Regions from separate parts of the Homo sapiens genome. Here regions 2, 3, 4, 5, 6 and 7 are each linked to region 1. Evidence: promoter capture Hi-C in 16 types of primary human blood cells and fetal thymus (Javierre and others, 2016). All regions are on one chromosome and are shown on one strand. Each heading gives the region's core, a stretch centred on a gene start or on the middle of the fragment in contact. The rest is flanking DNA. Distances are from core to core; before and after follow the strand shown.

What was found. The method cuts DNA at HindIII sites, captures the fragments that hold promoters and counts their contacts. A CHiCAGO score of 5 or more calls a contact.
Region 2: a contact is called between a fragment that was not itself captured here and the fragment with the promoter of KRT37 in region 1, in 3 of 17 cell types (erythroblasts, M1 macrophages and M2 macrophages). The highest score is 5.7, in erythroblasts.
Region 3: a fragment that was not itself captured here is called in contact with the fragment with the promoter of KRT37 in region 1 in 2 of 17 cell types (erythroblasts and M0 macrophages); the score reaches 6.7 in erythroblasts.
Region 4: a fragment that was not itself captured here is called in contact with the fragment with the promoter of KRT37 in region 1 in 3 of 17 cell types (M2 macrophages, monocytes and M1 macrophages); the score reaches 6.9 in M2 macrophages.
Region 5: a fragment that was not itself captured here is called in contact with the fragment with the promoter of KRT37 in region 1 in 1 of 17 cell types (M2 macrophages); the score reaches 6.6 in M2 macrophages.
Region 6: a fragment that was not itself captured here is called in contact with the fragment with the promoter of KRT37 in region 1 in 2 of 17 cell types (M2 macrophages and M1 macrophages); the score reaches 6.4 in M2 macrophages.
Region 7: a contact is called between a fragment that was not itself captured here and the fragment with the promoter of KRT37 in region 1, in 2 of 17 cell types (neutrophils and monocytes). The highest score is 5.9, in neutrophils.

Annotation. Positions count from the first base shown.
Region 1 is chr17:41,422,840-41,426,579 of GRCh38, forward strand. It overlaps KRT37 (keratin 37), which reads right to left and starts at 1,746. Exons shown (of 7, transcript NM_003770.5): 1 at 1,193-1,746; 2 at 923-1,005; 3 at 1-95. The coding sequence starts at 1,684. The HindIII fragment of the contact is 11,234 bases long and covers 1-3,740 here.
Region 2 is chr17:40,694,354-40,698,093 of GRCh38, forward strand. LOC105371775 (a long non-coding RNA gene) reads left to right here. Exons shown (of 4, transcript XR_934751.2): 4 at 3,103-3,487. It overlaps KRT24 (keratin 24), which reads right to left. Exons shown (of 8, transcript NM_019016.3): 8 at 3,638-3,740. Among named protein-coding and RNA genes, the nearest start is that of KRT24, 7.5 kb to the right of the region's middle. The HindIII fragment of the contact is 3,749 bases long and covers 24-3,740 here.
Region 3 is chr17:40,759,054-40,762,793 of GRCh38, forward strand. No RefSeq gene overlaps it. Among named protein-coding and RNA genes, the nearest start is that of KRT25, 5.6 kb to the left of the region's middle. The HindIII fragment of the contact is 206 bases long and covers 1,556-1,761 here.
Region 4 is chr17:40,775,470-40,779,209 of GRCh38, forward strand. It overlaps KRT27 (keratin 27), which reads right to left. Exons shown (of 8, transcript NM_181537.4): 6 at 2,046-2,263; 7 at 1,784-1,833; 8 at 1,339-1,669. The coding sequence ends at 1,530. Among named protein-coding and RNA genes, the nearest start is that of KRT26, 5.1 kb to the left of the region's middle. The HindIII fragment of the contact is 6,200 bases long and covers 1-3,740 here.
Region 5 is chr17:40,793,046-40,796,785 of GRCh38, forward strand. KRT28 (keratin 28) reads right to left here. Exons shown (of 8, transcript NM_181535.3): 6 at 784-1,001; 7 at 110-165. Among named protein-coding and RNA genes, the nearest start is that of KRT28, 5.0 kb to the right of the region's middle. The HindIII fragment of the contact is 6,389 bases long and covers 1-3,740 here.
Region 6 is chr17:40,811,632-40,815,371 of GRCh38, forward strand. LOC105371776 (a long non-coding RNA gene) reads left to right here. Exons shown (of 4, transcript XR_934753.2): 4 at 2,317-2,497. Among named protein-coding and RNA genes, the nearest start is that of KRT10-AS1, 5.6 kb to the right of the region's middle. The HindIII fragment of the contact is 4,415 bases long and covers 1-3,740 here.
Region 7 is chr17:40,844,002-40,847,741 of GRCh38, forward strand. No RefSeq gene overlaps it. Among named protein-coding and RNA genes, the nearest start is that of KRT12, 21 kb to the right of the region's middle. The HindIII fragment of the contact is 5,334 bases long and covers 1-3,740 here.

The sequences.
Region 1 (3,740 bases), core at 496-2,995:
GGTCGGCCTTGGCCAGGGTCGCGTCATCCAGGAGCTTCTGCGTCCCGCACTTGTCCGCCTCCACCAGCTGGTGAAGGGAGCGCTCACTCTCCAGCCTTCCGTCACAGGAGGCACAGGGTCAAAAAGAATGCCCCAATAGCCCCTCTCAGCTGCCCTGGCTTCCTACCTCCCACACCACCTTGGATCCTTATTTGTTCACGTGGGCAGTATACACTATTCTCAACCCTGCAGCGACACGGTTTGTAGTCAGGACATTATGCCCATTGACCAGATGGAAGACTGAGGCTCAGAAACAAAACACGAGTTGTTCAGAATTCCATGCCCAGTTAATAGTAAATGCATGGACTCATCCTAAGTGTTCTGACTTCAAATGCAGCATTTATTCTGCCATAATAGGAGTCATTTGGCCAGGAAAAAGAATGGCTAAAAATAAGCCTCTGGACCTTCAGTTTGCTGCTTTTCCTCTTGGATTCATTATTTCTCGTTGTTTTCTTGCTTTTCCCCTTCATTCAAGCACAACTCTAGCTACCAAGGAGCTTCAATGACAATTCCTCCAGCTGATGGATTTGGCCAAGAGTCAGAGAGTCTAGCAACAACCTATGCATTGACAGTTTATTTTTGTGATGACTCAATTTTACTTCTGATTGAAAAGCAAAATCCTCTTATCTTCTAGATATGGGAGAAAGTGACATAGGTTCTAACCAATCTAGACTACAGCCCTTCTTTTTCTTTCAATGCTTATATTCTCTTTCCTCCTATATAATGACCATTTCTAGCAACAGGCTAATTTAAGGTGTGGAGAGAAATATTCTTCTAGTCAAAAACTGTTTTTGAACACCTACAATATAGACTGAGTAATGGGGCGGGCCCTTGGAAATACAGCAGGAGAGAAGTCACACTGACCCTCCTCATCCTGACTTACTTGATCCTAAAGTCATCAGCAGCCAGCTTCGCGTTGTCAATTTGTACAATCAGCCTGGCATTCTCAGCCTTGCTGCACAGGATCTGAGGAAAACGGAAAGACGGTTCACACACAAAGCACCATACTCTAAGCTCCCACTCCATGTGTGGTATTTACGCTCATGTCCAAGAGAAACCAAGAACCCAAAGCTCTCTGGACCTTATGCAGATTCCTCCTGCGAAGGCTTCTGCCTTCTCAGACCCAGCATGCCCAGGCGATCCCACACCTCACCTTCTGCTGGAGCTCCTCGATTGTACGGAAGTAGGACTGGTAGTCGGGGCACACGGTGGACTCGTGGCACTTGCTCCTCTCGAGGAGTGTGGTCTCCAGCTCTGCATTCTCCTGCTCCAGCTGGCGCACCTTCTCCAGGTAGTTGGCCAGGCGGTCATTCAGGAACTTCATGGTCTCCTTCTCATGGCCATTCAGGGTGTTTTTGCCGTAGGCCCCACAGATTCCGATGTTGCCGGGAATGTGACAGGTCCCTGGCAAGGGACAAGCAGTGTGACTGGTTGGGGGCAGACAGAGGCTGGGGCGGCCCAGGGGAGTCGACCCCACACGGACTCTGTTGGCGTGTGCCACGTTGGCCAAGAGGCACATGGAGGCAGCATTGGCCTCTGCCACAGGCTGGCACCCAACATCGATAGGAGAGACAAAGACATTTCTTGCTCCAGGAGCCATGGTGCAACCCAGAGGGCATGAGGAGGTGCTGTAGAAGGAGGTCATGGTGTAGGGCTGAGGCTGCACAGGAGCTTCAGATCAGCTGGGAAGGCTGAGCCACTGAGACTGAAGCCTCCTCTCCTCCCAACCCTTTTATACCCCATCCTGGGCGGGTGTTGGCTCCAGTGCTTTGACCTCCTGCCTTGATTATCTACCTGTTGTGGTGCCATCATCCTGTTACTCAGCTGCTGAGTTTACCATGAGAAGTTCCTCAGCTCATTAAAGCAATGTTGACAAATCTGAGATGCCTCTTGGCTCTTCCATATCAGGTTAGCTGTTGGTGGGAAGTCAGAGACTCACTGTTTCTGCTCAACAAACACCAGCAGTTGATTCAGGCCCCAATTGCTCTCTCTGGACTATGGTCTCTGTGGATGTGGTCACAATGAAGGCTCAAATCTTTCCGTCAGTAATTTGTGTAGCAGGAGACACAGAGAACCAATGGGACCCACTGGATCTTTCGCCTGTGCAAGACTGAATCAGCCTTTCCTTTGAAGAGAAAATATCAGTTAATAAAACCAATGCATCTACTGATATTTGACGATTGAGAGGCGCCTTTTTTTCTTTCTTCTTTCACATTGCATACTCCCTTGAGAAGCAATAACATCTGGAAGCAATGGCGCTAATTAAGTTTTGGTTGACTAGTCAGAATCAGCTATTCATTCATTTGTTCATTCATTCATTGGTTCAGCATGCTTCCTGAATATCCCCCATAACTCAGGCAGTGTGCTGGTTCCTGGACACGCAATGTTCCCTGTTCATCAGGAGTAAACAATGCCTCTGAAATCTCTGGATGTTCTACACAAACTTGAATGAGAACCATAGATCAACAAGAGTTAGTGAAAGACAGAGGATCTATAGTTCTGGCCAAGGAAGTATCTAGAAAGAAATCACTAACAAAGAAAAATCTTATTTGATCCAGGAAAGGGAGATTGGGCACAGAGCTCAAGCAGTATTCAAATGAAAGGTCCAGAACTAACATTGATTGAGTACTTAGGTGTGCTAGGCATTCTACTGTGTTCTTTCCTATCTAACCCTTACCACCTATGAGGTGGTTACTCATTGCCTCAATGTACAGATGAGAAAACTAGAGTGAAGTACATTTGCACATTTTCTGATTGACAGTTAGTGAACTGGCAAAGGCTCGATTCAGTCTCATGTCTGCTAGGCCCATTCTCTTTTCACTTCATCATGGCCCCCGGTGAGAACAACGGTGTCATTGCCCCGTCAGTGCTGGGCCTAAGGAGAGGGCAAGAAGGGGCTTAGTTACTGGATGAGAAATTGTGGTGAAAAGAAAATTACTGAAGGTCTTTGTGTTCCAGCAAAGGAAAAGATTTAAATACTATGGCAGTGACAACAAGAAAATGCACTTTAAAAAGTTAAACTAGGCCGGGCGCGGTGGCTCACGCCTGTAATCCCTGTACTTTGGGAGGCCAAGGCAGGCGGATCACCTGAGGTCAGGAGTTCGAGACCAGCATGAACAACATGGAGAAAACCGGTCTCTACTAAAAATATAAAATTAGCCGGGCATGGTGGTACATGCCTGTAATCCCAGCTACTCAGGAGGCTGAGGAGGAGAATTGCTTGAACCCGGGAGGCGGAGGTTTCCGTGAGCCAAGATTGCGCCATTGCACTCCAGCCTGAGCAACAAGATTGACACTTTGTCTCAAAAAAGAAAAAAAAAGTTACGCTAGTTTGTAACATATGCATCATTTAAGACAGGGTGCGTCCTGAGAAATGCGTCGTTAAGAGATTTCTTCACTGTGGAAACATTATAGGGGGAACTCACACAAACCTAGATGGTAGAGCCTACTACACACCTAGACTGTATAGCACAGCCTATAGCACCTGGCTACAAACCTGTACAGCATGTTGCTGTACTGAGTATCATAGGCAACTATTATTAACACGATAATATTTGTGTATCTAAACATAGAAAAGGTAATGCATTGCACTACGACATTATAACCACTTCCACATCACTAGAGAATAGGAATTTTCAGCATCATTATAATCTTGTGGGACCACCGCCCGTATATGTGGTCTGTCGTTGACAGAAACATTC
Region 2 (3,740 bases), core at 648-3,147, 730 kb before region 1:
CATGCCCCCTCTCTGGAAGTCCAAGCTTTGTACACAGGATACCTCTGGGCTTGTCCCTTACCTGCTATTTAAGTGCTAACTTTTAAAAAAGTGGTTGAACTATTAACATTTGCTTCTTTCCTGCATTATCATTTCATATTGACATTGATATTACAAATGAGTACTTTGTTTTCAGAAGGGCTTGATCAATATTTTCTGTTACCCAAGTGTCATATCTCAGCCACTGAAAAGTTTTTAAAGTGGTTTATTACTTGTAGTATTTTGTTCCTTGAGGAGGTTGTGTGGATAATATTACTTGAGCTTCATTTTGGGTGATTTATATTCACCAGTTTGTCTCCTCCTGGGTGAACACTGTCTAATTCCACGAAGTCGTCAAGCCAGTTTAGGCCACTTTCCTTAGAGCTTCAAATACTTTAGCCGTTTACTCTGAGCTGCCTGCTGTGAACCTTGTTTCTTGTTTGTCATCTCTGTGAGGATGGATGCCACGTCGACCATTCTCATCATTCTTGTGTATACTTCCCTGAGGTGAGAAAGAAAAAACAACCCTGTGAATCTCTGGATTAAAAGTCAACGGGTGAAAACCCATGTGCGAGGCTGGGTGCGGTGGCTCACGCCTGTAATCCCAGCACTTTGGGAGGCCGAGGTGGGCGGATCCCAAGGTCAGGAGTTCGAGACCAGCCTGGCCAACATGGTGAAACCCCGTCTCTACTAAAAATACAAAAATTAGCTGGGCTTGGTGGCGCGTGCCTGTAATCCCAGCTACTCAGGAGGCTGAGGCAGGAGAATCGCTTGAACCTGGGAGGTGGAGGCGAGATCGCGCCGCTGCACTCCAGCCTGGGCGACAAGCGAGAGACTCTGTCTCAAAAAAAACAAACAAACAAAAAAGAAAGCCCATGTGCATGTGGGCATGAGCTCTCCCTTCTTACAGTAAATCCACTCTTAGAAAAAAGAAATGTGTTCCTCTCATTCAAAAGTTGAGGCTGAATGCAGTCGTTCATGCCTATAACCCCAGCCCTTTGGAAGGCCGAGGTGGGAGGATTGCTTGAGCCCAGGAGTTTGAGACCAGCCTGGGCAACATAGTGAAACTCCATCTCTACAAAAAATAAACAAAATTAGCTGGGCATGGTTGCCTGCAGCTACTCAGGAGGCTGAGGTGGGAGGATTGCTTGAGCCCAGGAAGTTGAGGCTGCAGGTGAATCGAGATGGCACCACTACACTCCAGCCTGGGCAACAGAGCGAGACCCTGTAACAAAACAAAGCAAAAAAATTGCCTGGAGAGCTGAACTTTAGGGTCTCACAATAAACATATTCCTATTGTAGAGTTTTAAAATAATTTTAAGGCAAGTAATAATGTATGAACACCATGTCCTTAACTTTTTATTCAGCACTGTAAATACGTTTTATGATCCAAAATGGTTGAATAGTTTCAGTTTTCAAAATTGAACATGCCCTTAACAACACATTCTATTGTGTCTCAGTGTTCTGGTGTCTATGATTGGGCCTTTTCTATATTTGTAAACAATCATTCAGTACAAACGCAGCATCTTAACGCATGACAAGGAAGAACAGATGAGGGTTTTCACCTCGAGATGACTTTCAGAGTAGCCTTATACTTTTGCCTTGACATGAAAATAGTACTAGCCATGAACATAGGTCTCAGGTGGCCAAAATCCACAGCTAGAAGGTTAGACTTGAGAAGACCCACAGAGAGAGGCTTCGCTGATGTGGCCGGGATGGCTTAGGTTCTGCAGGCTGCTTACGGCAGATTTCCATTTCTGCTCTTGAGCTATGAATCCAGTTGGATGAGCTGGTTCAGACTTTTAGTATTTCAGCAGAGAAGAAGCATTCAGGGTTTTATTTATTGTAATGATTTGATGGTGGAAAACAGCTTTGACTTAAGCAACTTAACATTGCTCTTTTTCTTTGAGTAGTGGTTTAATGTTTATTCTGTGGTTAGCTATTAACCTTATTCTGTGGTTAGCTATTTAAGCAGAAGTCATAATGTACCCAGAGGTTCATTTTAAGTTTTATTCAATGTGCCCAGAAGATGAAAAACTACATGTTTTGATGATAGGTTTGATATGCTCACACAATTCTTAATTGGTTTTATATTGGAAGATACATGTTCAGATTTGTCCTTTTATAACTTTACATTTGGCTTTTTATGCCACGTCCCGTGTTCTTTCCTTGAGGACTGGCTTGTAGAGTTGATTCTCTAATTTGTGATATGGGCATATTAAATTCCTTGATTGAGAAAGCCCTTAGCCAGCCTGGGTTGGTGCTATGCCTGGTTCTTCCTGGGGCCCGTACCACCTCCTACCCAATCTTAACAGGTTTCATCATCCCAAACAAGACAAGACAAAGCCATGTGGCCTCAGGGATACTGTAGAAATGAAAGAATAGGGCTATGACCACCAACGGGATGAAAGATCTTAGCAGTGGAGACTGGGGAAAAGAAACACCAGCTTGGCGAAGTGGCAGGTTTTGGCTAAAGATGTGGCTAGATTTGGCAGGGGAACAAGTGCCTGAGGATCTCTTCTCTTTGGGGCTTTCAAGGTTTCAGGAAATCAGATTGCCATATCACATAGCCAATCTTATTTCCCAAGACTCTTTTTTGGCCCCTGTCCTAAATGTCCTGTAAACACACATGTCTGATTCCTATGTCACTTCTGATGCAGATTGTGAAATCAAGTCTTTACTATTAACAGCTTTTTATTGCTTGCTGTCTTCTTTGTGTTTTAGCTCTTCTTCTCTGCTGAAATGTGAGCTTTTTGAAGTAGGAGGGAGATTTTGAGTTTCTTTTTTATCTTATAAAATATCGAGTTCAGTGATGGACATATATAAACTAGACATTAATTATAAGTTGATTATTAAAATAATCACATCCTTCTTTGTGGGCTAAGCCGTTGACACGGTAGTCTAATTTCAGCTATCATGCCACTGAGTTCTTATGTGATGCCATTAAAAATGCCCACATTAAAAAAATGACTATAATCTGAATTGTATAAAGAAGGTAATGTGATACCCTACCTCGTTTTAACCTGATTGTCTCTCTTAGCTGAGAGAGCCGGACAGACTCCATTTTTGTTTCTTCACTTGCAGCTCCCCTCCCTTAAAGGCATAAGTAGTGCAAGCTGACTCCGAGCACATCCAGGAATGCGCTTACTGATGAGATATCGAGGCAAGCTAAATCAGCAGTTCCTGAGGACGCGCTTGGGGGATGGCACCCAAAGCCCCTGCATTATCTCTTTGTGATAGTTTGAGCCCCTGCACCTGGAACTGTTTACTTTTCTGTAACTGTTTCTGTAACCAATTAATCTTTCTTAATTGGTTTGCCTGTTCTGCTTCTGTAAAAATTGCTTCAGCTAAACTCCCTCTCCCCTATTTAGACCACGATATAAAAAGAAATCTAGCCCCTTCTTCGGGGCCGAGAGAATTTTGAGCTCTAGCCGTCTTGTTCGCCGGCAATAAAAGGACTCCTGAATTAGTCTCAGAGTGTGTCATTTCTCTATAACTCGCTCAGTTACAACAGTAAGATATAAAGAATGAACTGACATTAGTAATATAGTCATGCAGCTAGATCATACTTGATAGCTTCCTTCCTAGGTAAAATACTTTTTAAAAAAATAAGTAATAATTAACTTGCAAAAGTAAATTTATTGAAGCATAGAAACAATTAAAGCAAAGTTGTTAATTCAGCTATTTCAAGAGCATTCTAATGAGGAAATAAGAAGATGCAG
Region 3 (3,740 bases), core at 409-2,908, 660 kb before region 1:
ATCTGTTAGGTCCACTTGGTCTAAAGTGTAGTTTAAGTCTAATCTTTCCTTACTAATTTTCTGTCTGGATGATTGATCCATTGTTGAAACTGTTGTACTGAAGTCCCCTACTATTGTTGCATTGTTGTCTATTGCTCCCTTCATACCTGTTAATGTTTGCTTTATATATTTAGGTGCTCTGATGTTGGGTGCATATATATTTACAATTGTTATATCCTCTTGATGAATTGTCTTCTTTATCATTACATAATGACTTTCTTTCTTTTTATAGTTTTTGACTTAAAGTCTACTTTTCTCTGATATAAATATAGCTACCTTTGCTCTTTTTTGTTTCTATTTGCATGGAATATCTTTTTCCATCCCTTCACTTTTAGTCTATGTGTGTCCTTAAAGCTGAAGTGAGTCTCTTGTAGACAGCATACAGATTTTGTGTATGTGTGTGTGTGTGTTTGCCTTTTTAGTACCCTTAGCTATTCTGTGTCATTTGATTGGAGAATGTAATCCATTTATATTCAAGGTAATTATTGATAGGTAAGGACTTACTACTGCCATTTTGTTGTTTTCCAGTTGTTTCGTAGATCCTTTGTTTCTTTTTTCCTTTCTTGCTGTCTGCCTTTGTGATTTGACAACTTTCTCTAGTGGCATGCTTTGATTCCTTTCTCTTTCTCTTTTGTGTATCTACTATAGAATTTTGCTTTGTGGTTATCATGAGACTTACACTGAACATGTTAGAACAGGTTATTTTAGGCTGATAACTTCAACTGCATTCAAAAACTTTACAGTTTTACTACCCCTCCATCTATTTTTTTGATGTCACAATTTATATCTCTTTATATTGTGTATTCCTTAACAAATTATTGTACTTATAATTAGTTTTAATAGTTTGGTCTTTTAACCTTTATACCAGATATAAGTGATGTGTACACCACCATTACAGTAGTATATTCTGAATTTGTATATTTACCTTTAACAGTGAGTTTTTTTAACTTTCATATGTTTTCATGTTGCTAATTAGAGTTCCTTTGTTTCAACTAATTGACCTATCTTTATCATTTCTTGTAAGGGAGGCAATGAACTCCCTCAGCTTTTGTTTGGGGATATCTCCTTAATTTATGAAGCCCAGACTTTTCTGGGTATGATATTCTTGGTTGGCAGGTTTTTTTCTTTCAGCACTTTGAATATATTATCCTACTGTCCTGACTTGCAAGGTTTCTGTTGAGAAGTCTGTTGATAGCCTCATGGGGGTTCCCTTGTATGTAATCAGTCTCTTATCTTTTGCTGCTTTCAAGATTCTCTCTGTCTTTTGGCAATTTTTAAAAAATTTTACTTTAAGTTCTGGGATACATGTGCAGAATGTGCAGGTTTGTTACATAGGTATATATGTGCCATGGTGGTTTGCTGCACCTATCAACCTGCCATCTAGGTTTTAAGCCCCACATGCATTAATGTGCCTCAGAGTGTTTGTCTTTGGGTTGATCTTGCTTGGGATCCTTTGAATTTCGTGAATCTGTATGTCCATATCCCTCTCAAGATTTGGGATGTATTTCTTTACATAAGCTTTCTTTCCTTTTCTCTCTTTCCTCCTTCTGAAATCCTCATAATGTATATATTTGTATGCTTGGTGGGATAGACTAGATCCTGTATGCCTTCTTTACTCTTTTTTATTATTTAAACATTTTTGTTCCTCTAATTCAGTAATTTAAAATGCCCTTTCTTTGAGTTTGCTAATTCTTTCTTCTGCATGATAGAGTCTGCTGTTGAAGCTTTCTATTGAATTTTTCAGTTTTGTCATTGTATTCTTCAGGTCTAGGATTTCTGGTTTTATTTTTATGGTTTCTATTTTAAAAATTAAGCTTCTCATCTTGTTTATGCATTGTTTTCCTAATTTCATTTAGTTATTTATCTATGTCTTTTTGCATCTTATTGAGCTTCTTTAAGATGATTATTTTGAATTTTCTTTCAGGCAATTTGTAGATCTCCCTTTCTTTGGGGTCAGTTACTGGAGCCTTATTAGTTTCCTTTGGTGGTGTCATGCTTGCCTTATTCTTCATTATTCATGTAGTCTTGCATTGGTATCTGTGCATTTGAAGGCACAAATACCTCCTTCATTTTTTTTTTTTGAGACAGGATCTTACTCTGTCACCCAGGCTGGAGTGCAGTGGCGTGATCTCAGCTCACTGCAATCTCTGGCTCCCAGGCTCAAGTGATCCTTCCACCTCAGCCTCCTGAGTAACTGGAATGACAGGCATATGCCACCATACTCAGCTAATTTTTATATGTTTTGTGGAGATGGGGTTTTGCCATATTGCCCAGGCTGGTCTTGAACTCCTGAGCTCAAGCCATCCACCCGCCTCAGCCTCCCAAAGTGCTGGGATTACAGGTGAAAGCCACCACACCTGGCCCTCTTTAAATCTTTATAGACTGCTTTTGGCAGTTTAAGGCCTTCTTCTATTAGGTTCCTGTGGTGATGGGATTGTGGTCAAATGAGGTTGGAGCTGGATCACATGGCTATTGCTGAGTCCACAGTGGGGTCTATAGTTGATAGGTCTGTTACCAGGGGCTGTAGTAGCTGTGGATTCTGTGTAGTCTCTGGGTTGACTGGACTGTCTGTAGAACCTTGGTCCATAGAGCTGGCACTGGGATGAGAGTCCATTTCAAGATCTGTAGATGATGGGCCATTACCAGGTGTGTGAGTGGGTGTGGCTTCTTCTGTGTCTCTGGAAAGTCTCCCAGTGGATCACTAAGTGAGACCCTGGGTATGTAGTGCTGCTCAAGTCCATGGCTGAGACAAGTTAGAACTGAGTTTTGGGGCTGCTTTAGAGCCTGTAACTGAGACTGAGCTCTTCAGACCTGTCTTTGGGGTCACAGAAGGGTATGTTTTCTGGTGGGTCCCCGGGCAGGCAGGCTTGCTCTCAGACCACAGTTGATAGAGGCTGGTGCTGAATTACAGGGCCATTTCAAGATCCACAGCAGGACCAAGATCAGTGGGTCAGGCTATAGGAGCACTGATGAGCATGTCTGTCTCCAGGTCTTGTGTGCGCAGCACTACTCTCAAGCCTCAGCTGAGAGGGGCTGGGACTGCTTTTCAGGGCCATTTCAGGATCTTCTGTGGGACCCAGGTCAGCTGGGCTGCCTGTGGAGCTCAGATGAGAGTGCCTCCCTCTGGATTCCTGGGCAGTTAGAACTTCTCTCTGACCACAGCTGAGAAGGGCTAGGGCCCAGATTCAGGTTTGTTTTAGGGATGCTGTAAAATTGAGATTGGCAAGCCTGCCCTGGGGACACAGAATGGTGTGTCTCCCAGCAGATCCCTGACGAGGCAGAAGTGCTTAGTCTGCAGCTGAGAGGGGCTGGGGTTGAAATTTAGAGCTATTTAGGGATCTGTTGTGGGACCAAGATTGGCAAGCCTGCCCTGAAGACTCAGATGGACATGTCTCCCTCTGGGTCCCTGTGGAAGCAGGACTAATCTCATGCTGTAGCTGACAGGGGCAGGGGATGAGTTAGAGGATATTTTTAGGATGCATAGCTGAGACAGAGGTTGGTGGGCCTGTCTTCTGATGTACTAGTGTGCATAATTCCTCTTTGACAAATGTTTTTGGTAGCAGGACCAAGAGAAAATGGGGTTGTAGCCAAGCTTGCAAGGATATGGGGCAGTTTCTAGGTCTGGGGATGGGACCATGATCAGTAAGTGCCAACTGGGTGTGGGTCTGTCCTGTAAAAATGAAACTCCTAGGTCTTGGGCT
Region 4 (3,740 bases), core at 719-3,218, 650 kb before region 1:
GGGTTTGGAAAATGTATAATGACACGTATCCGTTCTTATGATATTATCCAGAGTATTTTCACAGCCTTAAAAATCCTCTGTGTTCTGCCTGTGCATCCCTCACCTCCAATTTCTGGCAGCCAATTATCTTTTTACTATCTCCATAGTTTCGCCTTGTACAGAATGTCATATAGTTGGGGTCATACAGTATGTAGCCTTTTCAGATTGGCTTCTTTCACTTAGTAATATACATTTAAGGTTCCTCTGTGTCTTTTCATGGCTTGATAGCTCATAGCTTTTTAGCACTAAATAATATTTTGTTGTCTAGAGGTACCACAGTTATTTATCCATTCGTCAACCAAGAGGACATCTTGGTTGCTTCCAAGTTTTGGCAATTACGAATAAAGCTGTTATAAACATCTGTGCACAGGTTTTTGCGTGAATGTAACTTTTCAACTCTTACGTGGTAGGATGTTTCCTTTTCCTAATTTTGATATGAGGGTATATGATGTGAGGACTGGTTAATTAAAAAGTTAAGTGAGAGGGTATCTGCCTTACATTCGCTTAGGTATTATTACATGCGTGTGGGAAAAAGAGGAGGAAAGACAGCTTGAAAGTGACTGTGTTTCAACTGTGCTGAGCCAATTCTACAGAGTTCAGTAATAGGACACTGGTTCCAGAGAAAAACAGGCTGTTTCTGTTACGGGATTGGTGAGGGGGAGCCAAATCTCTCACCCACAAATAAACCTCTGGAGGGTTTTCTGCTGAGTTTAACCTCCTCCCACTCCCAGCCTTGAAATAGATTCATTAATGGTAGGTGCTGAAATTATTGCACTAAAAGTTACCTTTGACTTGAGAGCCACATGGCTCTGCAGTCTTGGATGGCAAAAACGAAGGAGAGAACTTGTGAATTCCTACCGTTATGGTGGAGTGATCAAGATTATGAATTAGATGCCTGCTGGAATTCTCCTCTTACCCTTGTCCTCACAGCTCTCTTTTTCCCCTTCTACCTTCAAATATCACTACTTATAGCCTTTCCTTTATGTTTAAGTTTGTTTCTGATTCTTCAGGTTCTTATTTCTACATCTATGAGCATATTGACTTCAGGGACTGGATCTTATTAACTGTTTTATCCTCGTTATCTGGCACATAGCGTGTTCTCAGTAAGTACTTTTCGTACTGAGACAAAGGAGACAAAATTTTACAGAGAAGTCAAAAAGACTCCAACTAGTTTTCACATTAAACTTACTTCCAACTTGTGAAGACTGTTGAATTAAACAGAAGAAATTAAAGACAAAATTCAGCTTCCATTTGGGAGGGTATATCTAAAATGCAAAGATTGGCCAGAACCAGGGAAGATGACTTGCAACAGGAAGAACTTTTATTGAAACACCACCATAGAGAAAAAGCCAAAGAAATGGTACTATTCTAAAAATAACTTGTCTTAATTCATTGGAAGAAAAGCAGAAAAATAAGGGGACCCTTATTTAGGAAACTAGCTTCATTTTGGTATTTTAATTTGGGGGCCATTCTGTCTCAGAGGCTGGAGTTCAGGAAGACACCCTCTGTTCATTCTTGTTGTTGACTTTGGTGGATTTCTCTTCCACAGTGTGAACTCTGGATGAGAGAACTTTGCCACGAGGATCTATCTCTTCAACAACTGTTTTGACAATGGTGGTTTTAGATGAATCTAAAATGCCACATATAAACTGTTTAGAATTTATCAAATTCATAAATAGGAAATAAAACATCATTTGAAACACATACAAATAAACACTGAATGCCTAACACAGCTTTTGTTTACCTTTTGTTTGATTTCCTGGGCCTCCATAGCCTTTTGATTTAGAACAGGAGCTGTAAAAGTATAGAGCGCTTATATTAATTATTCTGTTTTACTGAGGAAACTGAAAAATAATGATTTAAGGTGGGAATTCACTGCATTCTGAAATAACACTAAAAGAGTATTATCTATGCGTGATCTAGATCATAGATATTTTGTACTTGATTTCAAATCATCTTTAGTAACCTTAAAAATGAATTGTTTTCTCAATGGCGGCAATACTGACCCATCTTCTCCATCTATCAGGAGGCAGTAGGTCTCAATTTCTTTTTCCAGGTGGACCTTGATGTCAAGGAGCTGCTCATACTCGAGCTTCTGGCCCTCGGTCTCGGTTCTGACCTGGTGCAGCTGCTCCTCCAGGGCCCCGATCTGAGCCTGGATCTGTGCCAGCTGTGCACAGTAGTTACTCTCGGTCTCTGTCAAGGAGCACTCCAGGGAGTGTTTCTGTAGTTTGGTAAGACATGGTTTAATAGAAAAGGTCACGGTGTTTTAGAATAAGCCAAAGCATTTAAGAGATAATTAAGAGAATTATCCTTACATCATGCAAATAATTATATTTACCCAAAAGATTCCACTTCTTCAATATTAATTGTTGCCTTTATTAAATGTCCTACTACTTTTCTATTTGAGAATGACACAGCTGGTGCTGAATGTCCCTCAGATGCCCAGGTGTGCTAAAAAAGATGAAATTGTCTCTTCATAGGGCACAGACTGAAAGATCCCTCCCCTGCACCAATATAGCCTGTGCTTGTAGAGTGTGGCACAATTTGCTACTTTACCCACAACTAGAAGTCCGCCTATACTTTGCTACTCATTTCTAGCCATGTGACAGTCTTGTCTTATGAGGATTGTAGCTCTTCTATTAAAAAGTCATCCTGCAGTAAACCGCATAAACGTTCCATGAGTAGAATAAACCACAGAAAATAATTACCTTCTTAGACTTTAAATACAGTAGTTCAATTCATTGGCTTGTGAATCTGAATGGGTTTACAGATATACTCAGAGGGAACACTCACTGCAATTTTACATGGAATGAAGATGAGAGTGTCTTATCCTTTCACCTGCAAGTATTTTTTATATAAAGTCTTGATTTTATATACATTCATAGCCTCATCTGTGGATAAACTCTGGTGGTTTACTAGCCATAGTGGGAAAAGTATAGACTTGGGAGTTAGAAAATTTGGAGAGAACTTCTGGATTCCTTCATACCCAACTGTGGGACTGTGGGAATTGCTTAACTTCTTCGAATCTCAGAGTCCTCTTTTGGAAATAATGACATGAGTTATAACGTCTGCCCTGCCCATGCCCCGGGGTTGTTGTGGACTCACATGTGGGCGGAAGTGCTGGGCAAACCCTTAATGAAAGCAGTTATGATTATCATTACACATGTTTAGTTTTATAGTCAGCCTTCATGCCTCGACTTTTCCTCTGTCTATGCCACTTACAAAGGAACTTGTAAGTGCTCTTAATTGAGTGGCCAAAAGGAATGCTAGATGAAGCTAGGAGTGGTGCAAATGTATTTTTGCTCTCTTTAAGCAGTAGGATTTTTTTTCTTTTTTTTTAAATGGACACATAAGAATTGTATATATTTATGGGGTTCCATAATTATATTTCAAAACACACAATGTGTAGTGATAGAATCAGGGCAGTTAGCATATCCATGGTCCCAAACATTTATCTTTTTTGTGTGTGTTGGGAACATTCAAAATCCTCTCCTTGAACTATTAGAAATTATAGAATAAATTATTCTTAACTGTAGTCATTCTACAGTACTATAGAACACTTGAACTGATTCTCCCTATTTCTCTGTAATTTTGTATCCTTTAACCAACCTCTTCCTATCCCCCCATCCCCTTCCCAGGCTCTAGTAAGCACTTATCCCACTCTCTACTTCTGAGATCAACTTTTTTAGCCTCCACAT
Region 5 (3,740 bases), core at 733-3,232, 630 kb before region 1:
GCCGAGATAGCACCATTGCATTCCAGCCTGGGCAACAGAGCGAGACTCTGTCTCAAAAAAATTTAAAAAAAGAAAAGAAAAGAAAAGAAATAGAACTAGATTTTATTACCTTTAGATGAATTCCCAGGGCTTCCTGATCCAAAGCCCTTTGATTTGGAGCATGAACTGTAAAAGAAATATAGTTTATTCTTTTATATTTCTGCTTACTATCGCTTCAGAAATATTCATTGACTCAATGAATGAAATTTGTATGCCAAAAACAGGTCTTAGTTTTCTATAGAGGAAACTCTTAAGATTTTTATGTGTAGGAGCTGAAAGTAATTAAATGTTATCTAAAGAGAGAATATAAATAAATCTTGTTTCCATTTGATTTTTTTTTTTACACCCAAGAATTTAAAACTTAAGGACATACATATATATATGGATCCAGGTGGTTTGTACAGAGTACATTTATTTCAGGGCAGCAGTGAAATTAGGTATGCACTGAAAGAAGGATAAAGCCTGCTTGTGGGAGGTGGAGAGAATCTTGAAACCCACAGTGATTAACATGGACAACAGATGGGAATGGCTGCAGGAACATTTCCAGTCATCTAATGCAGAGGAGAACACTGTGATGAACAGGATTTGGAAGAGATGACTCTCTTCCAAAAAAACAAGAGATGGACATGCTTTTCTGCAGTGGGAATGAAAAAGAAAAGGCTTGGAAGTATGGAAGGCTAATGGGCAGCCCACATTTGTAGCTTAAAAGAGGTAAAAACTGGATTTTCAAATGGCTTTACTTACTTTCCATCTCCATCTATCAGGCGGCAGTAGGTCTCAATTTCTTTTTCCAAGTGGACCTTGACATCGAGGAGATGCTCATACTCCAGCTTCTGGCCCTCGGTCTCGGTTCTGACCTGGTGCAGCTGCTCCTCCAGGGCCCCGATCTGAGCCTGGATCTGCGCCAGCTGCGTACAGTAGTTGCTCTCGGTCTCTGTCAAGGAGCACTCCAGGGAGTGTTTCTGAGGACATCAAAGAAGCCGTGGCAAGGGATGAAAACACTCTGAGGACTAGTAGAACATTGTTTCTCAGTAATCAGCAGGATTGCTCCCTGGGCAATTGTGGAAATTTGTGAGGCTTGTCACAATCAAATGGGAAAGAAAGGAGGCTGGCATTTATGAAGTGAGGGCCAGGCATGATGGACGTGGGATCCTGACCCGGGATAAATGGCCCTTTTCCCACAAGACTTTTGATGTTCCACTGGACATTGATGATATATAGGTCATATTTCTATTAAAACCAACTGATATATTAAAGCACCTTTTAAGGGTAGCAGAATAAAAAATCGATATGGGAAAACTTGTATTTTGAAATTATATATTTATTTCAGGGTTACCTGTTGTTTCCATCTTACTCTGCTACTGTCCCCGCAGATCCACTCCGCTAGTGTTCCATGGCCTTTTGTGCTACTGCTTTTTTTTTCTCTAATCCATCCTTGATTTTCTAGCCTCTATCAAAGGTCTTTTATTAAGGTACCTGAGATTGAATGAGTGCCTTAACAGATGTGAGATTTCAAGGCAAGAGCTATATCTCATAACACAATACAGGTCATTATTTCGACACTACTCTTATGAATATCATACTTCCTCTTTGCTACTTCTACAGTCTGTAATTTGTCTTGGCACCTGCTGCCTCCTTTAATTAAGGTAATTTTCCTCTTTCCCTTATTATAGATAAATATGTCTGGGCAATTATTACTTCTGTTGATATTAGTTATTATCCAAGTGTCCACCCCAACTTCCACTCTTTCATTTTCCTTTTCTTGTGTGGAGGAACTTCTGATCTTACATGGTTGAAAATGAAAGATTTATTAAGAGAAGATGCAAGGCTCTGCCTCTTTCATTACATTTTCTAGGGTAGTTAGGCCCAAGTATTTACCTAGTAAATACATTTTATCTTAAAATACTTGCCTTTTTATTGCATTTATGGTATTATACTTTAAAAAATAATTTTGTATATTTCTAAATCTATTACCTAGTGACTTCATTCTAGCATTGCAAAGAAGGAATTACACAATATTTGTCTTAACGGGCAGACATTGGGTCTAATGGGGCTGAGAACCTAACACTGACTTAGAGCTACTGACTTAGGCAAACAGACGTGTTACATGGAGGGTGCTGGGCTCTCCAGGAGCAGGTAAGTGGAAGGAGATCAGGATGGTAATGCGGAGAGTAAGGCAACAGGTAGCAAGACGCCAGTGAGGCGTGTGCTCGGCAGCTCAAAACTTTAATTTCCCTGGTAATGCGTCCTCCTAGGGTATTCCTTTTTATGATTGCTAATACACTCATAAGTCAGAGAGGACAGCGTCTCTACTTCACAGTCTTCCACCGTGAAGGCTGGCTTGTCAAAGAGGGAGGAGAACAGGATGAACTTGAAAGTTTGTACATCACAGGAAGCAAACGTGAACATTTGTGTATTTAGACAACTCCCAACTTACAAATGACTTGTGTTCTAACTCTAGGAGATTGAGCTTAGAATTCATAAGACAACAGGGCCTCAGGGATGTAAGTTAGGTACTATGCTCCCATTATTCTAGAATTCAGTTATGTCCTGTGTTAAGTGGGCTTTTTATGTGTGGATTATCCTATGAGCCCAAATTATAGTACCACTGGCTGCACAGACTCTAACTACTTTATAACATCCTTGTTTCTATGTGAAAATGCTCACAATTCTGGTCTGGGGACTCGAAAATGTATTTCCATCAGCGTAGCTCAGAAATAGAGGGAGGATTCACTCACACAGCTCCTGCAGCAGGAACAGAGTCCTCAGGGATCTAGTTCAGGGAAGAAGGGAAATGGAGAAGAAAGGAAGGTTCCAGGAGCCCACAGTGGCAGGGGTGTCTCGGGTACCTGCTAGCAGCAGTGATGAGGGAGAGGAGAAGAGGGCCATCCTGGTTAAGTTAGGGGCCAGTCAGTGTAAAAACAAGTCTCCCATCTAAATCCGATATAGGGAGAAAGCACACACCTTTAGAGGGCGGCTAAATCAAAAGAATCTCCCGTTGTTTTGAGTCATCTTTTCCTTTTTGGCTCACTGCACTCACTTGGGTAACAGCTGCTCTCTTCTTTGTGTTACAACCTGGTGTCCTCAGGAGGCACGAAACCTCTTATGGGGAAGGGAGTCCTTAGGCCATGTGCATGCCGTAATTCTCAAAGTCAAGCCTTTTGGGCACTGCCAGCTCACACTCTAGAAGGGAAGCCATTTTTAATCCTGGGTTGACGCCATGCTGACCTTTGAAGTAAGCCAGGAGCTGGTGGTATGCCCAAGTGGCTGAAGGCCTGGCTCCCAGGTGTGCCCTCCGGGATTTGACCTCTGCCCTGGACTCTGTGGCGATGAAGAGCCTGACAGTGCCCATGTGGCATTCAGGTGTGTACCCTCTCTTCCTCTGCCTGGTGAAACCACATGTGGCTTCTAATATGTCTTCATCAGTATCAGGAGATGCTGGTGTGATGCTGGCTCCCTGCCCTGTGGGACACTAGCCCCACACCCCTGATCATAGACCTGTGGCTAATTTTCTGGTGCAGCAATATTGCTGCTGTTTGTTTTGCGGACCTAAGCTGAATTACCCTGAGAAAGGATCTATGTGAAATGTCTATTTTCATGAAATGAGCACTAAGCATCAGCCAGGAAGGAAACTCCCAGTGATGTCAAGGAGGAAGAAAAAGCTCTCTTTTGAGTGTCTATGCATCTGTTTTTTCCTGCTC
Region 6 (3,740 bases), core at 389-2,888, 610 kb before region 1:
GATATTTTTATTTCAGTTGGATAAATGTCTATGAGTGAGATTGCTAGATTGTATGTTAAGTCTATGTTTAACACGATGACAAACTGCCAAACTATAATTTTGCATTCCCACTAGCAATATATGAGGGTTCCAGTTGCTCAGAATCCCTACTTGCACTTGGTATTGTCCATCAAAAAATTTTTTTTGAGTCATTCTAATAGTTGTATAGTGGTATGTTTAGAATTTGTATTTCCCTAATGTCTAATGATGTCAAGCATCTTCTTTGTGTGCTTATTTGCCATTTGTATCTCTTCTTTGATAAAGTATCAGTTCAAATCTTTTGTCCATTTTTTAATTGGTTTGTGGTTTTTTTCTTGTTATTGAGTTGTAGTTTTTTATATTTATATTCTATATGCCAGTCCTTTATAAGATTTGTATTTTTGTGACTATTTTCTCCCAGTCTTTGGCTTTTTAAAATTATTTTGACGGTGACTTTCAATAGATGACACAAACAAATGGAAAAACATCATATGCTCATGGATTGGGTGAATAATGATATTGGGTCAATATTGTTAAAATGACCATACTGCCCAAAACGAACTACAGGTTCAATGCTATTCCTATCAAATCACCAATGTAATTTTTCACAGAACTAGAAGAAACTATTCTAACATTCATATGGGACCGATGAAGATCATGAATAGCCAAAGTAATCCTAAGTGAAAAGAACACAATGAAATACAAATGGGCTATATAATGATCAAAATACATGAGCAGATGTTTCACCAAAGAGGAGATACGGATGGCAAATAGCCACATGAAAAGCTGTTCAGGCCAGACACAGTGGCTCACGCCTGTAATCCCAACACTTTGGGAGGCTGAAGTGGGTGGATCACCTGAGGTCAGGAGTTTGAGACCAGCCTGGCTGACATGGTGAGACCTCATCTCTACTAAAAATACAAAAATTAGCTGGGCATGGTGGCGCATGCCTGTAATCCCAGCTACTCAGGAGGCTGAGGTAGGAAAATCACTTGAACTTGGGAGGCAGAGGTTGCGGTGAGCTGAGATTGCTCCACTGCACTCCAGCCTGGGCGCCAGAGAAAGTCTCTGTCTCAAAACAAGAAAAAAGAGAGAGAAAAAAAAGAAAATAAAAAGAAAAGCTATTCAGCATATTTTCCATTAGGGAAATGCAAATTAAACTTCAGTGAGCTATAAGTACATACCTATTAGAAAAATACTGATAATGCCAAATACTGATGAGGATGCAGAAAAATTTGCTCTCCCATTTATTGCTGGTGGCAATATAAAATGGTACAGCTTCTCTGGACAACAGTTTGGCGGTTTCTTACAAAACTGAACATGCACCTACCATATGACCTAGCAATTATATGCTTGGACATATAACCCAGAGAAATGAAAATGTATGTTCACACCAAAACGTGTACACAAATGTTCAGTCTCAAAAGGTTACATACTGTGTGATTACACTTATATAGCATTCTCTAAATGGTAAAACTATAGAGATGGAGATTAGTAGTTGCCAGGGGCCAGGAACTGGGAAGGGAGTGTTGAGGTACACATGTGAATACAAAAAGGTAGCATGAAGGAGTTCTTTTGTGGTTATGAAATGGTTCTGTATCTTGATTTGGGTGGTGGTACAAAAATTGTACCTATACATGGGGTACAATTGCACAGACACACAATTTTTTTTTGGTTTGTGGTTTTTTCTTGTTATTGAGTTATAGTTTTTTATATTTATATTCTATATGCCAGTCCTTTATAAGATTTGTATTTTGTGAATACACATGCAGGTTAGGAAAAACAAAAACTGAGTAAGCTCTGTAGTTAAACAGTGATGTACCAATGCCAATTTTTAAATTTTAGATATTATACCCTAGCCTATAGAAGATGTCTCTATTTGGGGAAGGTGAGTCAGGAGTACACTGGACTCTACTATTTTTGCAATTTCCAACGAGTCTATAATTATTTCAAAATTTAAAAAATGTGATTACACATTTTTTTCTGCTTTTTTTTTACTACTTATATGGATGTTTAAGACACTCATTTGGATTATTTCTAGTATGTTTGTTATGGGTTTAATAGTTTATCATTTACTGAATAAACCTTACTTTCTTAGGGTTTAGATTCTTCCTTTATCATACACTAATGTCCATTTATATATAATCATTTCCTACACTCTTAGTTCCAGTGATGAATTAAATTGTGCTTCAGTTTCTTCATCTGTAAAATGGAGATAATAATAGTATATATGTCATAGAGTTCATTCCTTCAAAAACGATATTTTTGGTACCTAACCTGTGTTAGTCACTGTTCTAGTGCCTCAGGATACATGAATGGATAAAGTAGACGAAGATCAAGCGTTGTCTTTCTGGAGTGTACCGTCTAGCAGGGGAAAAGGATGACTAATAATGAATACATTGTATAGTAAGTTGGAAACAGTGCTGTGAAAAAAAGAAAAAGTGGAAAACCTAGGCAATACCATTCAGGACACAGGCATGGGCAAAGACTTCATGACTGAAAAACCAAAAGCAATGGCAACAAAAGCCAAAATTGACAAATGGGATCTAATTAAACTAAAGAGCTTCTGCACAGCAAAAGAAACTATCATCATGGTGAACAGGCAACCTACAGAAAGGGAGAAAATTTTTGCAATCTACCCATCTGACAAAGGGCTAATATCCAGAATCTACAAAGAACTTAAACAAATTTACAAGAAAAAAACAACCCCATCAAAAAGTGGACAAAGGAAATGAACAGACTTCTCAAAAGAAGACGTTTATGCAGCCAACAGACATATGAAAAAATGCTCAACATCACTGGTCATCAGAGAAATGCAAATCAAAACCACAATGAGATACCATCTCACACCAGTTAGAATGGCGGTCATTAAAAAGTCAGGAAACAACAAATGCTGGAGAGGATGTGGAGAAATAGGAACGCTTTTACACTGTTGGTGGGAGTGTAAATTAGTTCAACCATTGTGGAAGACAGTGTGGCAATTCCTCAAGGATCTAGAACTAGAAATACCATTTGACCCAGCGATCCCTTTACTGGGTATACATCCAAAGGATTATAAATGATGCTACTATAAAGACATATGCACACGTATGTTTATTGTGGCACTATTCACAATAGCAAAGTCTTGGAACCAACCTAAATGTCCAGCAATGATAGACTGGATTAAGAAACTGTGGCACATATACACCAGGGAATACTATGCAGCCATAAAAAAGGATGAGTTCATGTCCTTTTCAGGGATATGGATGAAGCTGGAAACCATCATTCTGAGCAAACTATCACGAGGACATAAAACCAAATACCACATGTTCTCACTCATAGGTGGGAGTTGAACAATGAGAACACATGGACACAGGGTGGGGAACATCACACACCTGTTGTGGGGTAGAGGGCTGGGGGAGGGATAGAATTAGGGGAAATACCTAATGTAAATGACGAGTTAATGGGCGCAGCCAACCAACATGGCACACGTATAACTACGTAACAAACCTGCACATTCTGCACATGTACCCTAGAACTTAAAGTATAATAATAATAAAAAAAGTGGAGCAGATAGGGGAGTTGGGAGATTGGCAGGTAAAATTTTAAGCGGAAAATCAGAGTGGGTCTCAAAGAAAAAGTGACAACTGTGCAAAGGCTTGAAGGAGGTAAGGAAGACCATCTTGTTAAAGAATATTAACCAAGGTAACATCAAAAGAGAAATGGAGAGACATCAAAGAATT
Region 7 (3,740 bases), core at 485-2,984, 580 kb before region 1:
ACACATGTGCACACACACACACACACACACACACACCAAAAACAAAAAACACCTTTTATCTAAGTGGAATTTCAGGCACCGTGGTGGTAAAAATTTTGAAGAAAATATTTTTCTGTATTTTTCCAATTAATACAACTTGACTTTAAAATTAACTGTAGCAGGAAAAGCACTTTGTTGTCTCTAGGCCTCTTTTCCTCACCTTCTGGAGGGAAGGGACAGTATCTTGGCTCTGATTGTCCTATCTTTTGTACAGTTCACTGAATATATATCATATGCCATATATTTTACTGGGGTTCTGAGGATGCAAGGATAAGTAAGATGTGGTCTTTACCTTCAAGGAAGTCATATCTTTTGGGTCAAAGGGTAGGAGACAAGGCACAAATAATTACAAAATAGGATGAAGAGTTTGGAAATACAGATTTATCTAAAGTATATGAAGCACCAGTAAAAAGAAACCAGTTTCTGGAGGACTTAATGAGATGTCTTTTGAATGATGTCTTAAAGAATGACTTAGAATTCATTGTATGGGAAAAAAAAAATCTAGGCTGAGGGACCAGCAAGTATAAAGGAGACATAAACACACACGACGTATTTCAAGAACTGAGAAAAGTTTGGTTTAGCTGGGACATAAAGTTTATGTGAGTGAGTGCCAACAAATAAGTCTGGAAAATAGGTTTGTGCTACATAAGAAAAGACCTGTAATGCCATTTTAAGGAATTTGGACTTGATCCCTTAGTCATGGAGTGGACCGTTGAAAGCTGCTAAATAGGGGAGGAACATGACCTTAATTTTTTGAAAGATAACTTTGTTGACAGTGTACTAGATGGATTGGGGGGAAACTGGACAAAGGGAGATGAGATGGGAGAATTTGCAAGAGTCTGGGGAGGGGAAGAAACAATGAAAATTTCACAAAAGTGTCAGTGCAGTGATAAGAATGGGAAGATAGTCATAGATAAGGTGGCATTTGACTTGGCTGTTTGCCCGTTGATGATGGAGGGCATCTAAGATGACAAGACGTTTCTAGTTTTGAACTTCGGGGAATGCTATTGACTGATATGTGAATGCAAAGGGGGAGCAGTTTTTGTAGGAAAGATAACAAATTTAGGGAAAGGAAGATTGAGCCTGAGGTACCTATCAACATTCAGATGTAGATATTCCATAGGCAGCTGCAGTGTGGGTCTGAGATTAGGAGAGAAATTGTGATTTGGAAGTTACTGGCAAAGAGAAACCATGAACTACATGAGATTTCTCAGGGAGAATGAGTAGAGATGAGGACCATGGATAAAACCTTGAGGAGCTGCAATATTTAATGAGAATATAAAAGGCTTGAGAGATAACATTGAAAGATAAAAGGGAGAACCAGGGGACAGAAGTTTCAAGAGAGCCAGTGGAGAGGAGAATTTTGAGAAGATGGGATGGCCAACAGTGTTAAAGATGTCAAGTATGACTAGAACTGCAACATTACTTTACAATCTAGCTGTTTGTTCTGAAAAGATCCTAGAAGTACTGTTGTCTTTTGAGAACAGGGAATGAATTCTCTCAAAGCTACCAATTACAGTTAATACACATTCTCAGTCTTTATAGTTTAAGCATCATTTAATATGACCAATTTTGCAAATTAAAGGATCACTGAAATTGAAATAATTTAGGAAAGAGCTGAAGGCCAGAAATTACCTATATTGAGGTGGTAGTTGAAGCCTTTAGAATAACTGGATTTTATAAAGGGGAGAGCAGAAGTTTAAGGCTGAATGGTGAGGAAACCCTCAGTTAGGCTTGGCACAGAGGAAAAGTACCCAGTGAAGGAAGTGAATAAGGAGTGATCTGGAAGTCTGGAAAAAAATTCAGGCAACCAAGGATGGATTGTAGCATATTATGATTCACCTGGTAGAGTTTCCAGAAGGAGGTTCTTCCGGGTCTTGAGTTTCAAATTCTGCATAGAGACCAGGAAGAATGAGGACTAGAAATTAATGTGCATGATAGTGCCACAAGATCCTTGGAGATCTGGGTGCAAGAATATACTGGACAATGTAGGGGCACAGAAGCCAGACTGTCTGCCATTAGGGAAGGAAAGGGTGGTGATGGAATGAAGCCATCTGTGTCTTGCACTGCTGCAGCACACACAGTGAGTATAAAAGAAAAAAGAATGGTGTGGAGCTAAGCAAGGGTGGAATGAAGACAAGATGGTTGGGTGCAGAACATACTGGGAAACAGAAGCAAGTAGAATTTTATAGCTCTTTAGAGGTATTTCAGAAATGTTTCCTCTGGGAAATAAAGAAAAAGAGGGCCAGGCGCGGTGGCTCATGCCTGTAATTCCAACACTTTGGGAGGCCGAGGTGGGCGGATCACTTGGGGTTGGGAGTTCAAGACCAGCCTGGCCAACATGGAGAAACCCTGTCTCTTGTAAAAATACAAAATTAGCTGGGCGTGGTGGCACATGCCTGTAATCCCAGCTACTTGGGAGGCTGAGGCAGGAGAATCGCTTGAACCCGGGAGGTGGAGGTTGCAGTGAGCCAAGATCATGCCATTGCACTCCAGCCTGGGCAACAAGAACAAAACTCCATCTCAAAAAAAAAAAAAAAAAAAAAAAAGAGAGAGAAAGAGAACACTCAGGGAGCCAATAAGCCAGATAGCACAGGTAGGTACCTGGAAGGAGAGAGAAATCAGAAATAAGAGTGGTTCAAGACACAGTTCAAGAGCTCACATCAGTAATATAGGAAACCATCTGTTGAATGAGCCATTTAAACTGTATCATAGGGAACTTAGCATAAAGAACAGGCATGTGGTATAATTAAAAATGACTGAAAAAATTCTGCATTTTAGAAGCATCATTGTGGCGAATGTGCAGGAAAGTGAGTGCTCAGGAAGTTGGCCTTAGACAGCTGGAAAGATATGTCCTTCATTGCCAGTAAACTGGCATTCTAATGTGCACATCAGCATTGTGTGAATACAGTCACTGTAAGTCTATCATCAAGTGTCAGGTTACCTCTGGGCATGGTGAAGTCTAGTTTCTGGACCTGCAGGGCTATGAGGAACAGATTCTGGACTGTGGTAAGTTTTTTGAAGTAATTCAAATTTATATTAAATTTGTATTTTAAAAAACCCTTTTGATAATCAATCTAGTCTTGTGGGCAGCTTTTCATTTGCTTCATGATATATTCCTGTACCCTCCATGAGTGGTGTTAGGAAAAATGGCAGTAAGTATTACTTTTAACAGTTAGTTGGTAGAATAATTTACTCACCGTATTCACTAAAAAGCTGATGATTACAAATAGAAAAATAGTTTTAGGAAATGTGGAGCTTAGAGAGAACAAACACAAGTCATTCTTGCTGCCACTCTCCTGTACTCATGTCAGACATTACTAATTGATAACACATCTTCCTGCTGAACCCAGACTGGCTGGAGAATTATTCTTAATAAAATTAATCCAGGAAGCCCACAACCAATTGCCTGAATTGAGCCATGTGAATAAAAACTCTGCCCTTTCTTTCTTTGTTTTTTTTTTTTTTTGAGATGGAGTCTCGCTCTGTCGCCCAGGCTGGAGTGCAGTGGTGCAATCTCAGCTCACTGTAACCTCTGTCTCCCGGGTTCAAGCAATTCTCCTGCCTCAGCCTCCCAAGTAGCTGGGACTACAGGCATGTGCCACCACGCCCAGCTAATTTTTGTATTTTTAGTAGAGATGGGGTTTCACCATATTGGCCAGGATGGTCTCAATCTCTTGACCTTGTGATCTGCCTGCCTC